Regions from separate parts of the Homo sapiens genome. Here all the other regions are linked to region 3. Evidence: promoter capture Hi-C in 16 types of primary human blood cells and fetal thymus (Javierre and others, 2016). All regions are on one chromosome and are shown on one strand. Each heading gives the region's core, a stretch centred on a gene start or on the middle of the fragment in contact. The rest is flanking DNA. Distances are from core to core; before and after follow the strand shown. Region 1 holds the start of SNORD109B (small nucleolar RNA, C/D box 109B). Region 2 has its middle 11 kb from the start of UBE3A. Region 3 holds the start of MAGEL2 (MAGE family member L2). Region 4 has its middle 48 kb from the start of SNHG14.

Region 1 (2,700 bases), core at 180-2,679, 1.6 Mb after region 3:
ACTAAACAAATGTCTACTGTACATTTACTGTTCTCACTGATGATGCATTAGATAACCATGCACAAAATAAGCCTGGCTGTGGAAACGCTTATTTGTTGGGAGGGTGCTTGTTTGGATCGATGATGAGAATAATTGTCTGAGGATGCTGAGGGACTCATTCCAGATGTCAATCTGAGGTCCAGATGTGCGGCCCTCCAATAGGACAAATAAGACTCTCAGAGCCTGGCTCTATTTGGGGATCCCTCAGTGACAACATAGTACCCCTGTGAGCGTGCCTTTTCTATCTCTTCGAAGAGGGCAGTGGCATCCTGTCTTATGAGTCAGTGTGCACTTTAGTGTGCCTAGTGACCCAAGACTTGCTTTAATTGTAGATAGATACTTACATATAGGAAATATTTCTTAAGTAACAAATGAAAAACTTTAGAAGATTGAATTAAGGGTCAAGCAACTGTGATATGTCTGAAAATCTCATTAGTGTTGTGCTGAAAGAAGGAAATATGGCATGCCTCTATTAAATAATGACAGTGGAACCAAGTTTATTGCTTTGTTATTTTTACTGTGGAGTATTTTCTAAGATTATTTTTGCTTTTTTTTTCTTTCATGTTTTGCTGAGATAGAAGGCCTGGAATCTGATCCTCCACTTCAGAGAACAGGGGTGAGTAGCTAAGCCATTATCTTTTGAAATTCATATGTCATGTGCTCTTTGCTAGGTCTTTAGGTCGTTTTGTACATCTTTTCAGAAGCTTATTGGAGGACATTTTCATGATATGTCCTTTTCCTCATTGAGACCCTCACCATGTCACCTACACTATTGAATCCTTATCATTTCTCTTTTAATTTTAACTCTCTTTTGCTTTTATGGAAAAATGTAGAATTTAAGAGAATTTTTGGCAATTTCATATTGGATCAAAATGTATTGTAGTGAAATCCAGGTGTGCCAAAATATTAACAGATTTTCCCCATCTGTTTAATTATTGGGGTTTCAGAATAGAGACTCCATGGTTCATAATATCTTTGTGGTCATACTACATTATATTTCTGCTTCTAATTTAATTATTAAATATTGACTTGAATTAGTCTTTTCCTCATTGTTGCAACAAGGTAAGTTATATAGGAAATTTTCTTCTCTTGATGGCATGTCTGAGATAATCATAGATATAAGACACCTGGCTGGTTTCTAGAATGCATGTAATTTTTATTTCTTGATCTGTGTGTTGAGTACTTGCTGTGATTGCATCATGCAAATACATTGAGCTTTACAATTTTAGTGTATGCACTTTTCTACATGTATATTATTCTTCGATAGAAAGTAAAAAAAACTTATCGAACTAGTCAAAATATTGGTTAATACATAAAAAAAGTCTCAAGTAGATTGTGTATTACATGGTGCTTGTTGATTGATGCCCTCATAATAGATCAAGTGGGTTCTCTCTTTAGCACAGGGCTTTTTAGCAAATCATGTCATGAGTAGTTACTCAAGTATTTTTATTTTAACACATTTATATTTTTTCTATGTATATTCTTAAATTCTCTTATACTTTTTTCTCTGTTATAAAAACATGCTGAACAATCTCAAGTCTTAAGGATTGCAGTATTGTCCCCACATATTCATGTATTTTGGTACTCAATTCTTTATACTTTCTTTGACAGATCACTTGAACTGGCACATGTCTCTTGTTTTGCAGAGAGGGAATTAATGTGATACCTTCATGCTTTTCTATTCTATGTGCTACATAATTGAATATACAAGCAAATATAGTTGTTAAGATTTAGTGTGATTATTTCTACACCACATGCAAAGAAGTTTCTCATAGATCTTAATAGAGGCCCACATGCATTGTACAGTTTAGAATTTGGGGAAATATTGATGAAGTTGGGTAAAGTATAAAGCCAAAAGTCAGAACAGTGAACTCCTTGCTTAAGGATTTCCTTGGAGATTACTTAGTCAATACACAACTGATAAATTTAAGTGCTTTTCACCTTTTGAGTTCTCGACATACTAAAGCTAAAATGTGTTTCAACTTTTAATCCTGCTTCCCTGATTTTCCCTTTTTTAGTCTGAGATCAAAGAGTTTCAGCCATAAATTACTGCCAAGAGTAATCACTTCATTTTAAGAAAGCTTAACAATATAGAAGAATATAAAATTATTTATGACAGATGTATTTTTAACCTTTTCCCCATGCTTTCCAGAGGAAATATGTTTAATCATCTGCCCTATATTAGGGAAAAACTTTCTATGCTAATACAAGTATCTATCAATCCATTTATCTTTCTATATAAGATGTATTGATCATAACCAATTAACTTTACTGTAAATGAGCTTTAGATTTGACATTTTGGTAGTAATATATGTTGTACAATCTCCTGAGGTCCTATAGGTCTTGAGGTCTCTATGTCAAAAACTATAGATGTGCCAGTGTCCTCAGTGAATGTGAAGGACACCACATTTTCCTTAGCCATTTCTTGTTTTCAGAATAATGGTTATCAACATTTTGCTACTGCAAGATACCATACATTTATAATCGGAATATGCCAGTTTTTATGCACTCATGCCTCTGTTTCTGTAGAGCATTCCCAGAATGAGTAATGCTTGAAAATTAGGTCCATGTGATTTCTTTAATGAGTTATAGTCAAATCATGAAATATTCAGGTTACCATTATTTCAGTAATGTATTAGAATGTCAAGGTAAAGTTATCTA
Region 2 (2,700 bases), core at 75-2,574, 1.8 Mb after region 3:
GTGACAGAACAGGAACTGAAAGAACTGGACAATTGATACCTGATACATTCAACTTCCGTGAAGCATCATTGACGGGAATGAGAGTATGTTGAAGCTTTTGGGCAAATATCCCCTAGGAAGTTACAGCCAGACTTTCCTAGTCTGATTTTATCCAGTGTTTTCATTGATGACTAGCCCTTTTCTTTAGAAATGTCAGGCTTCCATTATATCTTGCAGGCCTGGAAGCCATTTCTCTTTTTTTTAAGTGACTTATAACAAACTCTGCTTTGGTCCATATGTGAATAAGCCAACAGGTTAACACCCAAAGGCAATCATATTTTCCTTTTTTTCCATATTTCTGTGGCATTTCTATGTGTGCCAAGTGTCAACTGTACTATATTTTATTACCTGATTGTAATCTCCTCACATCTAGAAGTCCTTCAGTCTGAACTTCTTCATGACTTTCAAACCTACTAAACCTACTATCTAGTTCTCAGTAGCTTTTTTCCTATTTCTCTCTTTTTTTCAATTTATTTTATATATATATATTTAAGTAGAGATTAGGTTTCACTATGTTACCCAGACTGGTCTTGAACTCCTGGGCTCAAGCGATCCTCCCACTTCAGCCTCCCAAAGTGCTAAGATTACAGGCGTGAGCCCCACACCCAGCCTCCCAATTTCCCTTTTATGTCAAACACTTCTCATATGAAACATGCCATAGTTTTTTGTACTTCCTTATTTCTTGGTCATTTTTTAAATCTAAAGAAAAGTTTAGAGCATAGTATAATCAATAACCATATTTTCTTTAGCTAGATGTCCTGGTAGTTTATATCTGGCCATATTTGTTCTATCTATCCATTTATCTGTTATCTCCAGCTATGGACCCATTTGTCATAAGTTACAGACTTTGTAACACTTTATCCCTGTATCTTTTCCATAAGAACCAGGGCATTCCCATATATAACCATAAACCACATGCAATTTAACCTTGTTCTGGGTTAGCAGAGACATCTTCCTTAGCAGGCCAGTTTTATGATATGGTTCTGGGAAATGTTCTCAGAAATACAAGCTAGAAGCTGTCTTTTCATCCCTTCTGATTAAACTGTGATTTTCCATTTTTTTTTTAAATAAATCTTTTCTTGCTGCACAGGAAAGGGTTAACTCAGCAGTCCTGGGTTGGTCAAACCCTGTAGGTTCCAAAAAAAGGCCTGCCTTGGCTGGGCATGGTGGCTCACGCCTGTAATCCCAGCACTTTGGGAGGCTGAGGCAGGTGGAACACCAGGTCAGGAGATCGAGACCATCCTGGCTAATACGGTGAAACCCAGTCTCTACTAAAAATACAAAAAATTAGCTGGGCATGGTGGCGGGTGCCTGTAGTCCCAGCTACTCAGGAGGCTGAGGCAGGAGAATGGCGTGAACCTGGGAGGCAGAGCTTGCAGTGAGCTGAGATCATGCCACTGCACTCCAGCCTGGGCGACAGAGCAAGACCCCGTCTCAAAAAAAAAAAAAAAAAAAAAAAAAGGCCTGCCTTCAGGATTGGTCCTTGACTAGCCCCTGACTAACCTCTGAGACCCTGAAACATTCTGCCTGATGAGAGTGTTTTATATACCTGAGGCTGTGGGTCATGCTGTATCAGTTTGGCCAGATAAGTTCATCCTAACAAAGTGATTTATGGTAAATGCCTGTTTTTGGCTCAGGAGCCAGCAGGGAGAGGAGAAGTTTGCGGTGGCTGGAATAGAAGTCATACAGGTACTATATGCCTATGTGACTGACCACTAATACCTGTGAAAACCCTGGACACCAAGGTGTGGGTTATCTTCAAATAATGGCAAAATTTATGAAGTCTTGCCAACCAGGAAGCTACTTCATATGTGTTACACATTATTGCAGAGACAATTAAGTGTATCTCCATGTGACTCCAGCAGAGAAGATATCTGGAAGCCTGGACCTAGTTTCTCCTGGATTTCATCCCATGTACCTTTTCCCTTTGCTGATTTTAATCTGTATCCATTTGCTGTAATGAACTATAACCATGAGTGTAAGAGCTTTTCTGAGTCCTGTGAGTCCTTCCGGCAAATACTTGAGCATAAGGGTCATCTAGGATCATCTGACATGCCTGCCTAGACTAGTTACTATGGATTCTGTTGTCTCCAACCAACAAGTATTATTGACACAGAATTGATGACAAAAGATCCTTAAAGAAATAGAAATCTGGGACTAGTGTCTGAAATGGATTTGAAAACAGTAAGTATCTAAGTAGTGCTGGCAGTGGGACAGTGGTCCATGGCACACAGTGACCAAACAGTTAAATGATCTTTTGTAGTCAGCTGGACTAAAGTAGCTTTTGAAGGAAAGACTTTGATTTAAGAGATTGTGGTTCAAGTCATTAAGCAGGCCACGTGCAGTCTAATTTAGGAGGTGAAATCTTGCACAAAAGAGCTAGAGTAGCAATCTGAATAGTTTAGCCTACAGGGATCTTTGACAGGTGAATTGGTCATGAAGTCCCAAGGACTGAAATAGGTAATCAGTTTACTGTGTCCTTTTAGATAAGTACAATTCTAGTTCTGAGTAAACCAAAGCTTGACTTAAGCCACCTCAATAGAGATTCACAGCCCCTTGCCAAATCCCAAACCTCAGTCAGTTCATAGACACAGAGTCATGTGAGTGAAGGTGAGTCTGGGTACAGCTGAGGATAACCCAATAAGTTCATGCTGTATATTT
Region 3 (2,700 bases), core at 79-2,578:
TAACGGCTGGTGCCTGCCAGGTGACCTGCGTGGTCTGCCAAGTCAGGGGAGTGGCCTGCCAGCCTTGCTGCGTGGCCTGCCATCCTGGCGAGGTCGCCTGCCAGCCCGGGGGTGTGGCTAGCTGCGCTGGGGGTGCCTGCGGGCCCTGGGGAACCTGCGGAGGAGCCCTTATAACTTGAGACTGGATTTGCAGGATCAGAGGCTGAGCCTGCGGGGCCCAAGAAGCCATCGGCTGTGCAGGTGGGGCCATCGGCTGTGCAGGTGGGGCCGCCGGCTGTGCCATCGGTGCTCCTGAAGCTGGAGGCTGGGTCATCGGAGCTCTCGCACCTGGAGGATGAATCATCAGGACTCCTGGACCTGGAGGCTTGGCCATCGGTGCTCCTGAAGGCTGAGGCTGGGTCATCATGGCTGCTGGAGGCGGCTGGACCATCGGTGCTCCCGGAGCAGCAGGCTGGACCATCAGGACTCCCGGAGTCAGAGGCTGGGCCATCAGGACTCCCGGAGCTGGAGGCTGGGCCATCGGTGTACCCGGAGGGGGAGGATGAGCCATCGGTGTCCCCGGAGGTGGAGGATGAGCCATCGGTGTCCCCGGAGGGGGAGGATGAGCCATCGGTGTCCCCGGAGGGGGAGGATGAGCCATCGGGGTCCCCGGAGGAGGAGGATGCACCATCGGGGTCCCCGGAGGAGGAGGATGGGCCATCGGGGTCCCCGGAGGAGGAGGATGGGCCATTGGGGTCCCCGGAGGGGGAGGGTGGGACATTGGGGTCCCCGGAGGAGGAGGATGGGCCATGGGAGCTCCGGGAGCTGAAGGATGCACCATCAGGACTCCCGGGGTCGGAGGCTGGGCCATCGGGGCTCCCGGAGGTGGAGGATGCACCATCAGGACCCCGGGAGTCGGAGGCTTACCCATCGGGCCCCCCAGCGGGGGAGCCGGGACTATCGGGCCCCCTAGGGCAGGAGGCTGGGTCATCGGAACCACCGGGGCGGGCAGCTGGCCCTGTGGGGCCTCCCAGGCAGGCTGAGGTGCCTGCCAAGCGGCCAATGAAGCCTGCAAGTCAATTGGAGGTGGATCCCAAGGGACTGGCGGAGCCCGGGAGGAAGCGGGCGGGGCCCGCATCAGAACCGTAGGGCGGCTATAGACAGGCGGCTTCGGGGCCTCCGCCGGAGGACTCGAGTCACCCAGATTCTTACTTAGCTGCGACATGTCCCTTTGCTGACAGCTGGTGGGTCTTTTCCTCGGACAGCTGCTGGGCCTTTTCCTCCAGAGAGAAGAGAATGCCTACGTGGCTGTTCAGAGGCTCCCTCCCTGCTGAATGCTGAATAGGAAGTGAGTGCTGCTCGCTCCGCAGCTTTCCGCAGTAAGGAGGAGGGGGGAAGGGGGCTCAATCCCGCCCCTTCCCCGCCCCCGACCACCACAAGTGGATATTGCATAGGGGCGTCTACCGGAGTCCTGGCTGACACAGGATCCCTTCTCACTCTGTCCAGTCCCCAAATGCAGACCAGTCAGACTCCACATGGATGACTTTTCACAGGGGAGTGACAGGAACCCATCCATGTTTTAGAAAAATCACTGTACTGCAGTGTGGAGTGGGAGCAGACCACTGGAAACATGGAAGGTATCCAAGACGGCGGGGGGAGATGGTGTGGTCTGGGCTAAGATGTGAGGCGGAGAATGAAAAAAGCGCATTTACATAAGAGAGTTCCAGGAGTTATAGCAGACAGATACCTGTATTATAATTGAATAAAGGAGTCAAAGACATGGAAAAGGCACACAAGTCCCTGCCTGGAGAAAGTGGGAAGTTGCAGGGACTGTTACTCTCTTAGGGTCCCAGGAGAGGCACACGGGAAGAGAGGCTGATGAGTATTGGCAGACACAGGGCATTTGCGGTGCTGTGGGACTGCCAAGGAGAGATACCCTGTAGGCACTCCTGTATGATGTCTTGGGAGTCCTGCTTGGCTATTCCTCATGAAAATAGAGTTGTGGGAGGGAATGTGGTTGCACTGGGTCTTGAAGAACACAGGCATGTTAGAGACACATGGAGAAAAGGGACAGCAGCGAGTAGAGAGAGAGGAAAAGAAGTCACGGAACTGAGACATGCCACACATCAGTGGAAGACAGCATTTTTAGTATGGGAAAACTGCCTGTGGAATGGCTCGGATGCAGGAACAGAGTAGGTTTCTCAGTATTTTTCATCTGCAGAATGGGAAAGAAATTTAAAAAATGAAAACCAAATAACGCACCTGAAGATAACAAAATGGGTATATAAATAGATCAAAAATTGATATATTTGGATATATAGGAAAAACAGGCAAAGAATAAAAAAATTTCTGGGGAAACTTCTCGTGACAAAAATCAGTTTAAATATGAGACAAATCAAGTATTAACAGATAAAGCAGATGACAATAGTATTATTGGGCAATGCTATACAACTTTATGGTGAGAGGAAGTGATAATCTCAGTAATTGAAAAGCTTTCTGGAAATATACAAAGCACTAAATATCAAGGATGTTTCGTTTAAATAGGCTGTTGGCAGCCTACGGCAGGAGTCCAGAGTGACAAAACGTGCCACCAGGGGGCAGATGAGGACGATGAAGGGTACACCCCACTCCTTCCCAGGTACCCTTAGCCAGGGGTCCTCAAATTTGGTAATTTATGGACCCAAGAGAAGGTATGTACACACTCCCAATGTTATTATTGCC
Region 4 (2,700 bases), core at 6-2,505, 1.1 Mb after region 3:
AATAATTTTGAAATTACTGTCATTTTTTAAGGGATACTTCTTTAATCATGTTTGTATTTTCCCTAAGATTCTCGATTGACTCTCTTTTATCTTTTCCAACTAAGCACCTGTTTTACGAGAGGTATTGTGGGGGCTTCAAGGTCAAACTTTCCCCCAATGCCTCTATATCCATTATAAAATACCATTTTTTATTTTAACAAAAAGTTGTACAAGGTTGAAAGAAGTTTCTCAGCTATATGCTTTTCTCTGTATCCTGACTTCCCTTACTTCATCACTCTATCCATCACTTTACAACTGATAATTCAATCCCAAAATTCTTTTACTAATCGGCTTATTAAATTTGTGCCTTCCATTTGAAGAACCGGGGGTTACCCAAGGCCTGATTTTTCCTAGGACACTGGGAGAACACAAGATCTGGTTCCCAGTGCCAGAGAGATGATCACCTAGGAAGAAACAAGTCATAGGTCAGACAAGAGCCACAAGGGCGTCTGCCGTTCTAAACACATTTCCTGTTAGACAGACACTTGGTTATGGGTCAGACAGTTATGGCTTAGGGCATTGGCCACGTAAAAGAAGTATCCCATGAACGGCACACTGTAAACACCCATTTCCAGCTCCCTTTCATCTCCCATTACGGCAGAGTTGATCGCCATTCTGGTACCAGGACCTGGATATAGTTGTAAGTTCCTAGAACCGGAGGTCAGAATTGGCCTTGTACAGTACCTGTAGGAGTCTAAATGAGGGCTACCTACTGGAAGTCAATGAAACAAAGATTTAAGGTGGATCTAAATGGAAATACATATATCTCAAACTGCTATACACATAATAGTCTGATTTTGTACATATGAACTTGAAAGTAAAAGTAATTCATAAATGAATTCGCAATATTTTGAAACTAATTCTGATCTGAATTGGATTTTGAATCAGAAGTCATGGATGTCTTCCACCGTCTGTGCCATGAAGAGAGATGGCAATGAGGCATTCCTTAGTAAATGAGGCTGCACTACTCTGTGATTTCAACCTGTCCTGCTGACACCTTTGTGCATGTTTTGCTGCAGGTGACATTACAGAAGGAAATAGCAGAAGGTTTCAAAACAAGTTCATCCATGTGCAGACAATGAAAACTATGCCATGGCTGCAAGAAGGCTAACAGAATTGTAACATTTGACAGAAAATAATACAAAAAAGTGAAATATGATAAGTAAGAAGGATATGGAAATATTTATTAAGGGAGCCATATTAGTAGAGCTACATCTTACAGAACAAGAACATCTTCCTTGATCAAAGGGGCAAAACTTTCCAGGAGAGAAAAGGAGCATATGAGGTAGAAATAGCGTGATCCATAAGAGGGTCTCTACAATGGCTTGAGAATGGGGAGACAAGAAGAGTCAGGGAGACAGCAGGGTTTACACCTGTTCTGAGAACAGAAAGGAGCAAAAAAAAAATGTTCATTTTCAAGTTCAAATCCTCTTCAGATTGAAAGATAGAGTTAATTGGGGAAAAGACAAGAATATAGTAAAGAGTTTGAGAGATTCATTCATATGTAAAATTCAATATTAAAATAATCTGTGTTGCTTTTTGGCCACTGCATGTGTTGGGCTCACAGGGGAAAATATTTTTAAAATTTATGTCCTCTGATTTCAGTCCAGTGGGAATTCAGAAAACTTAACAAAATCCAAACTGTAAGTGGAAGCGTGCCCCTGGGAACTGAGAGGACAGGCATGAGACCTGTAATGGGATGGACAAGGAAGGCCTCTAGGATGAGGAACATTGGAGGAGATTCTGAAGATTGAGGAACGGTTTTTGACCAAGCAGAGGAGGGGAATTAGAAGAGGAAAAAGACTGTCCATGGCACAGGCCAGGGCATGAGAAAGGGGCAGTGGATTTCAAGGAATTCTGGGAGCTACTGTTTGTAAATTATAGGAGTAAAAAGGGAAGAGCACTGTGGGACTGGGTGTTAATCCAGTGTAGATGTTTCTCCATGTACATACACTTGTTCACACAGCTGAGCCTAGTCTACATGTCTCCTTATGTTCTTTGGTATTCTCCTACAAGCCTCATGATTGTTTTTGGTGTCTCAGAGCATAACATGCGTTACAATTCCAGAAAAATATGCAAGGTCTGGGAGGAAGAAATTTGTATTATTTCACTCAAGTAACATCCCATTACCTTTGTAATAGTCTGTGTTTCAAGTACATCCCATATCCTGTCCACTGTCAGGCGTGGCAGATTATACTACAGGGTTTTGTAAAACAACAGGTAGGGTTCATTGAGCACCATCTTATGGTCTACCTGTCACATCGGGTCTTTTCCAATCTGCAGTAGTTTCTCAGTCTATTTTGCATGACTTTGACCCTTTTGAAAAGAACTGATCAGGAATTTTGTGGGGTGTCCCACAATATGGATTTGTCTCATGTCTTCTCATGATTAGACTGGGGACATGCATAAATTAAACATGTCTAAATTTGATGACAAGAAAAACTGTACAATATACTATTAAGTAAGGTAAGGCTAGGCACAGTGGTTCATGCCTGTAATCCCAATCCTTTGGCAGGCTGAGGCAGGAGAATTGCTTAAGCCCAGGAGTTCAAGATCAGGCTGGGCAACATGGTGAGACCCCCATCTCTACAATAAATTTTAAAAATTAGCCAGGGTTTGTGGCACTTGCCTGTAGTCCCAGCTACCCAGGAGGCTGAGGCA

What was found. The method cuts DNA at HindIII sites, captures the fragments that hold promoters and counts their contacts. A CHiCAGO score of 5 or more calls a contact.
Region 1: a fragment that was not itself captured here is called in contact with the fragment with the promoter of MAGEL2 in region 3 in 1 of 17 cell types (M0 macrophages); the score reaches 5.5 in M0 macrophages.
Region 2: a fragment that was not itself captured here is called in contact with the fragment with the promoter of MAGEL2 in region 3 in 2 of 17 cell types (M0 macrophages and endothelial precursors); the score reaches 11.9 in M0 macrophages.
Region 4: a contact is called between a fragment that was not itself captured here and the fragment with the promoter of MAGEL2 in region 3, in 1 of 17 cell types (M2 macrophages). The highest score is 8.0, in M2 macrophages.

Annotation. Positions count from the first base shown.
Region 1 is chr15:25,278,230-25,280,929 of GRCh38, forward strand. SNHG14 (small nucleolar RNA host gene 14) reads left to right here. Exons shown (of 148, transcript NR_146177.1): 146 at 618-655. SNORD109B (small nucleolar RNA, C/D box 109B) reads left to right here and starts at 114; the gene lies at 114-180. The HindIII fragment of the contact is 1,377 bases long and covers 742-2,118 here.
Region 2 is chr15:25,448,285-25,450,984 of GRCh38, forward strand. No RefSeq gene overlaps it. Among named protein-coding and RNA genes, the nearest start is that of UBE3A, 11 kb to the left of the region's middle. The HindIII fragment of the contact is 2,464 bases long and covers 93-2,556 here.
Region 3 is chr15:23,646,539-23,649,238 of GRCh38, forward strand. It overlaps MAGEL2 (MAGE family member L2), which reads right to left and starts at 1,329. Exons shown (of 1, transcript NM_019066.5): 1 at 1-1,329. The coding sequence starts at 1,204. RefSeq lists an enhancer at 1-616. The HindIII fragment of the contact is 5,160 bases long and covers 1-2,469 here.
Region 4 is chr15:24,773,937-24,776,636 of GRCh38, forward strand. No RefSeq gene overlaps it. Among named protein-coding and RNA genes, the nearest start is that of SNHG14, 48 kb to the right of the region's middle. RefSeq lists an enhancer at 1-127. The HindIII fragment of the contact is 5,845 bases long and covers 1-2,700 here.